Regions from separate parts of the Homo sapiens genome. Here region 1 is linked to region 2. The links are contacts of gene promoters, found by promoter capture Hi-C in blood cells and fetal thymus (Javierre and others, 2016). All regions are on one chromosome and are shown on one strand. Each heading gives the region's core, a stretch centred on a gene start or on the middle of the fragment in contact. The rest is flanking DNA. Distances are from core to core; before and after follow the strand shown.

Region 1 (3,870 bases), core at 515-3,014, 240 kb after region 2:
AAGTTTCCTTTTAGTCATGGAATTCTTTATTCAAGGGAAGTCTTAAGCAGAACTAAAAACAAATAACTGTGGTTGAAGCCAGGATGAGGGGCCAACAACCACATTAGCTTACCACTCTCCACCCCATCCTACTATACATACACAGAAACATCTACCATGAGGTCCATAGAATACTTTTGAAAGACCCTAAGTTGCACTCACTGGGTTCTTTGTGTTAATGTGGGAGAATTTGTTTAGGGTGGATAGAATTGTGAATCATCAGTATGCATATTTTTAGCTTAACTAGATGTATTAGTTTCCTAGGTCTACCACAACAAAATATCTCAAACTTGGGGACCTAATGGAAAAGAAATGTATTGTCCCATTTTGGGGGAGGATAGAGATCCAAAATCAACGTGTTGGCAGAGTCATTCCTCCTGCAAACACTCTAGTAGGGAGGAAGGATGCTGTCTTGCCTCTTCCCACTTCTGGTAACCACAGACATTCCTTGCTTGAGGAAGCATAACTCCAATCTCCACCTCCTTCTTCACATAGCATTCTCCCTGGGTCTTTGTATCTGTACACAGCCATCTTCTTATGTGGACATCAGTCCTATTGGATTAGGGGCCCACCCTAAACTGGTATGGCATCATATTAACTAATTGTATCTGCAATGACTGTATTTCCAAATAAGGTCACATTATGAGGTACTGGAGATAAGGATTTCAACATGCCTTTTCTGGGGTGAACATAGTTCAACCCATAACACTAAATAATTCCAACTTTTTCTTTCACTTTGTTGTGCCAATATTCACTCCTAATAACAATGTATTAGAGTTTGGTTGTTTTGGGGTGCTAAGCCTTATTAGATTTTATCATTATGTCTAACTTCATGGCTACAAAATGATACTTATCTGTTGCATTCTTCTAATTACTAGTGAAATTAAACATTGTTTTATATGTATAATGAGAATTCTAGTTTCTTCATTTGTAGATTACTTATTCATGTTTTTTGTCAATTTTTCTATTGGCTTGTTTGTAATTTTTCACGGATTTGGAGAAAGTGTTTATAGCTTCCAGATACTAATGGTGGCTACTTAAATGTCTGCTACATTTTACATATTTAACAATTAAAACTTAATTTTTAATACAACTCACTCTTTTAACCTAAAAAGATAGAAATGACAAGTTGGGGATGGAGGGGAAATACAGAGCATTTGTCAACTATGGAGGGAGTGTTGAAATTGTATTGTTTTACAAAATCCAAGATGTTCCATCATACATGCATGTACAAACACACACAGGCACACCCACACACGTACACAGAGATGTACAAACATTCATAAACTGCTGATTATTCTTACTCAAAGGTGAAATTGCTGTTTCCAGGCAAGTAGCAAAGCTTCACGTGATGCCAGGCCCCTTAGCAGAGAACTCAGAGGGATTTTCCATGACTTAGAATAAGATCAAGACAAGCTTCAATAACTAGTTTCAAACAATTCCCTCTATTCATCATATAAAACATTATTGCAGAACTAACGAAATAATCTGAGTGTCAACGTGCTGGGAAATAACATAAGATTGAAGGAAAGAAGGAATAAAGTAAGGAACTACATGGAGGAAGCCACCAATAGGAAATCTAAAATTTTATGATGGATAAAAACCAGCTTACCTTTAGAGTTTATTCTATTTGTAAACATCCAGGATTATGACTGGAAGAGGGAATGCAAATATCTAAGAATAAAAAGTGGTTGTTTTCCCTTTAAACTCAGGAGGATTTTATAGATAATCTCTTTTTAGAGTATAATTTTTTCATTCATAAAAGTAGTGTGTATATATGTTCAAACCTAAAACAGAAAAAATATGCAGTCACACTAAACTCAAACGAATTTCTTTCTGGTTTGTTTTACATATAATTTTTGTGTCTGTTTCTTTTGGTTAACTGGTATGTTCCTTAGAATAACCTAGGTTATATTGCAGTAACAATTTAACTGTGATATCTAAGGGTCTTAATACAATGAAGTTACATTTATTGTTAACTCTGAGTGTCCAATACATTGTATTTTGCCCTACTCCACACAATCTCCAACTGATGGAAGCTTCACTATGGAAAATGTAGTTTCAGAACACCTTTTAGTGGAAGAGTGAGAATACTGGAAAATCTCACAGAGATGTTTCTGTTCACATTTCATGCACAAAAACTAGTCAAAGGCCACACACAACTGCAAGGGTGCTAGGAGGGGTAGTTTCCCCTAAGCCCCAGAAGAAAAGAGAACTGGATATTGGTAAGCATCATAGTGTCTACCAGAGCTAATGTGCTTTGTTTTCTTTTTGTTTTGGAGCAGTGGTGTTTTTTCTTGGTAATAGTTTCTGAGGAATTTTGACTTATATCTTTTTATCTTACCCAACCCAAATTTGTCTCAGAATTGCTGGGAATTTCCGTGTGCAATGCTATGTTGGCACTATTTAAGCTAAGCATATTACTTGTTAAATCCTTTCTGAAAAGGATCAGCTTAATATACTAGGAATTTAGCTGACAGATATGACCAGAAAGCAGCCCTGGAAGGTGGCAGGAAGGCAGCACTCCGTGCTCATAACTCTTTGTGAATTCGCCATTACAGAATTTTCTGTCCCAGCATTTCAACAAAACAGGAGTCCCTCAGCCTGAAGATTAGAAAGTAATGCTTCTTAACTTATTATTAATCTGAATTTGATTCCTCCTCCACAAATGTGGTCATTCATATTTGATTTTATTTTTCAGTAAATATATAGCCCGTTCTCCTTTCCTGTAAAGAAAACTTAAATAGCCATAAAAAATATTGAAATAATCCAAAAGTTAGATAGGGTAGGAAAAATCAGTTTCAGGTTTAATAATGTCAAATGTGCATTTTCACAACTTTAGGGGGAAAGGAAACTAAAATTTAAATCAAATTGGAAAGAAATGTGATTTTTTAATCTGTTCTATACATTTTGAGAATTTTTTAATGTGAAGGTTTGATAGACAGCCATACTTTTATCACTGGACATAGTGATCATTACTCATAGACCTGCCTAGCATCTTACAAAGGATATTTCCTTTCAATTTTGATCTCTGTTTTTTATACATACACTATACACTAGTTTCATTTGAGTAGGAGAGAAGTTATAATGTACTGATCATGCACTTATGGGTTTTGTCACTGAAATTTTAAAATAATCTTAGTTCAAATGAACTGTATTTGGCTTCAGGGCCCAGTATTAATGCCATCTATATCATAATGTCTTAGAATTCACTAGAAGTAATTGCATGTTTGTTCTTTTGTCATAGCTCTTTGTCAACTTACCCCTCTAATAAAGAATTACTTTTTTAGGTTAATTGAGTGCTGTTTTTCTAACCTCATTGATTCTAAACTCCTTGAGAACAGAACATATCTTTTATTTAATGCTGCCAAAAACTCTACATTAGCTTCCCATAGCTTTGTAGTAACAGATTACCACAAAGTTAGTGGCTTAAACCAACAGAAATTTAATCTCTCCAAGTTCTAATTTATTCTCTTCAAGTCCAGAAGTCTGAAATCATTGAGCCAAAATCAGTGTCATCAGCGTCAGACCTTCTCTGGAGTCTCTAGGAGAGAATCTGTCCCTGTGGCTTCTGGTGGCTGTCAGCTTCCTTGACTTGAAGGCACATCACTCCAGTCTCTGCCTCTATGGTCACATTGCTTCCTCCTTTTCTGAGTGTGTCTAATTTCCCTCTGCCTCTCTTTTATGAGGACACTTGTGATGGCATTTAGGGTTTACCTGGATAATCTCTTCATCTCAAAATCTTCATCAAATCTACAAAGAGCTTTTTTCCAAATAAGATTGTATGTACAGGTTCCAGGAATTAGAACATGGACCGATCTTTGGGATCTA
Region 2 (3,905 bases), core at 688-3,187:
TGACTCAGTTTCTTGAGAATCTTGAAAACAAACAAACAAAACACATGCTCAAGAACCAAAGTAAAAAAAAAAAGTTTTCAAATAGTTTGAGTAAGAAATGTCCTCAGATTAAACCACATAAAGCAGTTATGGTAGCATTAACAACAATCTATTATAGATCCATAAACATTCAATGATTTTAATATATTCTGAAAACTAGCTAAAGCATCATTCAAAATGTCTTCATTTTAAACTAAAATGTCAATAGGCATTTAACCGAAAAAAAATTTAAAGCTTGACATACTAAGCTTTCCTTCAAAAGTTTACATTTTTTTATATTTCACTGGAACAAAGTTACTTTGCATATACATCACACTTTTACTCTCAGAGGAGTTTCTCCTGCAGACTTCTTTAAAAAACTATATACATATATACATACATATACGTATATATTAAATTATCCTCAGCCTCAAATACTGATTTTGCAGTCTGTGATTCATAGCAGAAGAGGTGTCCCATTTTTCTATATTGACACACGATAATTTGACATTTGTTTTTTACTGACCAATTTCTAGCTAGATATTTCATCTATAAACTGCACTTAGCCAGCCTTATGCTGAACTTTGTAAGGGTTTTGTAATAATAAACTGTTCTTGACTGAAACACAAGCCTTTCATAATTACATGCCACAGTGCAATTCTTATGCAACGAGCTTGTGTTTTTCCAAATTTAGGACCAAGCATGTAGTTTTATCAGTTAGCTGGGATTTGGTCTTGTTTTCCCTTGATTCTGTAAGTGGTAGTTCTAACTTTGAAATGGGTCATCTAACTTATAACTATTTTCTTCATTTCTTTTTAAAAGGGAGAAATAGCATGCAAATTTCTGGCATGTTGATAGAAAGTTCAGCATTTTTTCCCTGACATGAAATATTTCATTTAGAATGCGTATGTTTCCTCTACGTATAAGGTTTCCTAGAGTCAGATATGATAAAAACAAACTCTGAGATGTATATACCTATGTTCCTACAAGTGTAAAACCTGAATGATGTCTCTGGAAATGGAGCCTCGGAGTGACCAGGAACACAAATACTTATATGTCACAGAAATAGAGGGGCACATACTTTGAAATATTTCAATGGAAATCAAAAATTGTAGTTTACTGGATTGAAATTAGTATCCTCTACTTAAACATTTTTGACACAAACTCAATGCTGATTCAGATCTGTAATCCATGTAGCTCATAATAACTTACTTGGTAGAAGTATTTCAGATTAATGAATTGTACAATTGTACAAATTAATAAATTGTACAATTGTTCAACTATACAATTAATTGTACAATTTGTATAGTTGAAAAAATCTATAAATTAATTTATAGATAAATTATCAAAGAAGACAACATTTTAAATAGTTATTCCCAATATTTTTTCTTCCATAATTAAAATAAAAGTAAGTATCTCAGCAATTGCTTGTTCTTAAAATTTCACTGCTATCTCAGCAGTCATGTAAGTTATTCTGGCTATTTAATTTTTCACTTTTGTTTGCATACTGTAACAGTTGGTAGGATAATTAATTTTGATTGTACATTTCCATTGAACTTTTGATGAAATTGTTTCACTCTTTTTATTAGAATAAAATTATTAGGAAAGTCTTCTAAAGAGAGGTTTTCTGTTTGTTTTTCCTTTGAGGAAGGTAGAGAGATGGGAAACGAAGACACCAAATATAAAGTCATTCCTCTATCTCTCATTTTAAAACCTGTTTTAAAGGTTGTAGCTAGTCAGGAAAACTGAAAAATCAACTGGTATTCCTAACTAAAGCAGGGCTTTGAAACTCTGCTACTAGCGACAGGGTTGGGAAAATTCCGGTTGCTCTTCTTGTCTGTGATATACGGTAGAAGGGTTGGTCCTGGTTTGGTCCACCTGCCAGCGGAGTTTAAAGTTTCCGAGGCTCAGAGGAACACAATGACTTGGATCAAACAGCCTAAATGGGAAGAAGGACATTTTTGCTGCATCAAGGAAGCCGTTAAACTCCTGCTAAGCTAACTAGCTCTTTTTTATGGGTCCATGCACACGACCGAACTCCTCTTTCACTGACCAGAGATTATTTCTGACAACCCAGGATATCCCGAAAGCTTGGAGGCATATGGCTGGAAAATGAAACGACCCAGGACATCGTTTCTGGCTGCATCATTATTTTGTGTCGCGTAGTACCAGATGGGCAGTCAGTGAGCGGCGCAGGGATGTGAACGGACGGTTTTATAATGTGAAAATTTTCCCTTGGTAAAGCTAAAACAGATTTAATTTCCCTCTCTTTTCTTTCACTACTTCCCCCTCTTTATTCCCCCTCTGTCTGCAATATCAGTGAACTCAACTTTGCAGTGAGGTGGCCAAAAAGAGAGAGAATGAGGAGATCTTGATCATCTTAGTGTCGGAGGAGTCGCAGCGGACTGGGAACTGCAGCTGCGACCCCCCGCGTCCTGTGCGGATTTCAGGGCTGATACCGCATAGGCGGTTATGGAAAGGACGGTACACCGGAGCGGCGGAGGATAGAGACCCTGGCCCCCGGAGAGGTCTGCTGATTTCGCAGCAGCCTTCGAAGCCGTGGCTGCCTTTCATCTGCTGCGTTTTATTACTATTATCGCCGTTCCGGAAAAGTCATGGAAGACAGCCCGCTGCCAGACCTCAGAGACATCGAGCTGAAGCTGGGGCGCAAAGTACCCGAGAGTCTAGTGCGCTCTCTCCGTGGGGAGGAGCCGGTTCCCAGGGAAAGGGACAGGGACCCCTGCGGGGGGAGCGGTGGTGGTGGCGGCGGCGGCGGCGGCTGCAGTAGCAGCAGCAGCTACTGCAGCTTCCCTCCCTCCTTGTCGTCCTCCTCTTCGTCCTCCCCAACCTCTGGCTCCCCACGAGGTAGCCACTCTAGCGCCCTGGAGAGGCTAGAAACCAAGCTTCACCTCCTCAGGCAAGAGATGGTGAGTGTGGTGCGCCAGCCGCGGGGGCTGGGACCTGGGCTGGGCCAAAAGATGGGGCGATCTGAGAATGGGGCTGGGAGAGAGGACGGCAGGGGCTGCAGAGCGGAGCGCTGGGCGCGTGGGAAATGCTGGGTGGAGGAATGAGCAGGGGGCGCTCATCCGGAGGCAGCTGCTGCGAGGCTTGTTTACCGCGGACTTTGCTCGGTCACGGTTTGCAAAGACAGCACAGTCGGCTGGCTCCACTCTGTGTACTTTCGGACAACGCGACTCACTGCGCCGGGCTCTATTTAGCTGCCAGCCCGTAGCCTCTTAGGCACCAGCCCGTTGAGAGTTTGCAGTTATTGCACCCATCTAAGGCCTGCTGTGCGCTGTTAACACTTCGGGTAGGTTCAAAAGGTGGCTCAGTCCAATGCACTTACTGCAAAAATACTTCCTGGTTTGCCGGGAGGTGGCGTGGCAGGGTCCTTGCAGCCTTTCCTCCTAGCTCACCCTTCCACCAGTACCGCTCCGCCCTCCTGCCCTCCCTTCTTGGTGCAGCAGCCGCAGCTGTTCCAAGGCCACTGTCGAGCAGATTCTCCACAGCTGGTTCTGAAAACAATGGCCTACTCGTCCTTGATGTACTTATGAATAGCTTGTTTCACTATTTTGATCCCAGGGAGCAGGTGATCCCCAGGCCCAGGGATCTGCTAAGGACCATCTCCCACCCTTCTCCCTCAAGTCTCAATCTGCAGTTGTTTTCCCTGCTGTTTGCAAACGTTTGCCTGAGCATAGGACAATGAGATAAGTACAAGGTCTAGGAATACTCATTCTGGAAGTATTTAGACTAAGACACTATTTACTTGCCATGAGCTCTTGGGCACGTCACTTCACTTCTGTAGACCTCTGTGAATTTGATGAGCTGGTTAGAGAAAATGATCCCTCCCTAAGTCCTTTGAAAAAAACGACCACAAAGCAACAGCA

What was found. Contacts are between HindIII fragments. The CHiCAGO score rates a contact against its expected background, and 5 or more counts as called.
Region 1: a fragment that was not itself captured here is called in contact with the fragment with the promoter of LURAP1L in region 2 in 1 of 17 cell types (megakaryocytes); the score reaches 5.7 in megakaryocytes.

Annotation. Positions count from the first base shown.
Region 1 is chr9:13,014,098-13,017,967 of GRCh38, forward strand. No RefSeq gene overlaps it. Among named protein-coding and RNA genes, the nearest start is that of SNORD137, 43 kb to the left of the region's middle. The HindIII fragment of the contact is 623 bases long and covers 1,454-2,076 here.
Region 2 is chr9:12,773,083-12,776,987 of GRCh38, forward strand. It overlaps LURAP1L (leucine rich adaptor protein 1 like), which reads left to right and starts at 1,938. Exons shown (of 2, transcript NM_203403.2): 1 at 1,938-2,945. The coding sequence starts at 2,634. All of the region lies in intron 2 of LURAP1L-AS1 (LURAP1L antisense RNA 1), which reads right to left. The HindIII fragment of the contact is 1,821 bases long and covers 286-2,106 here.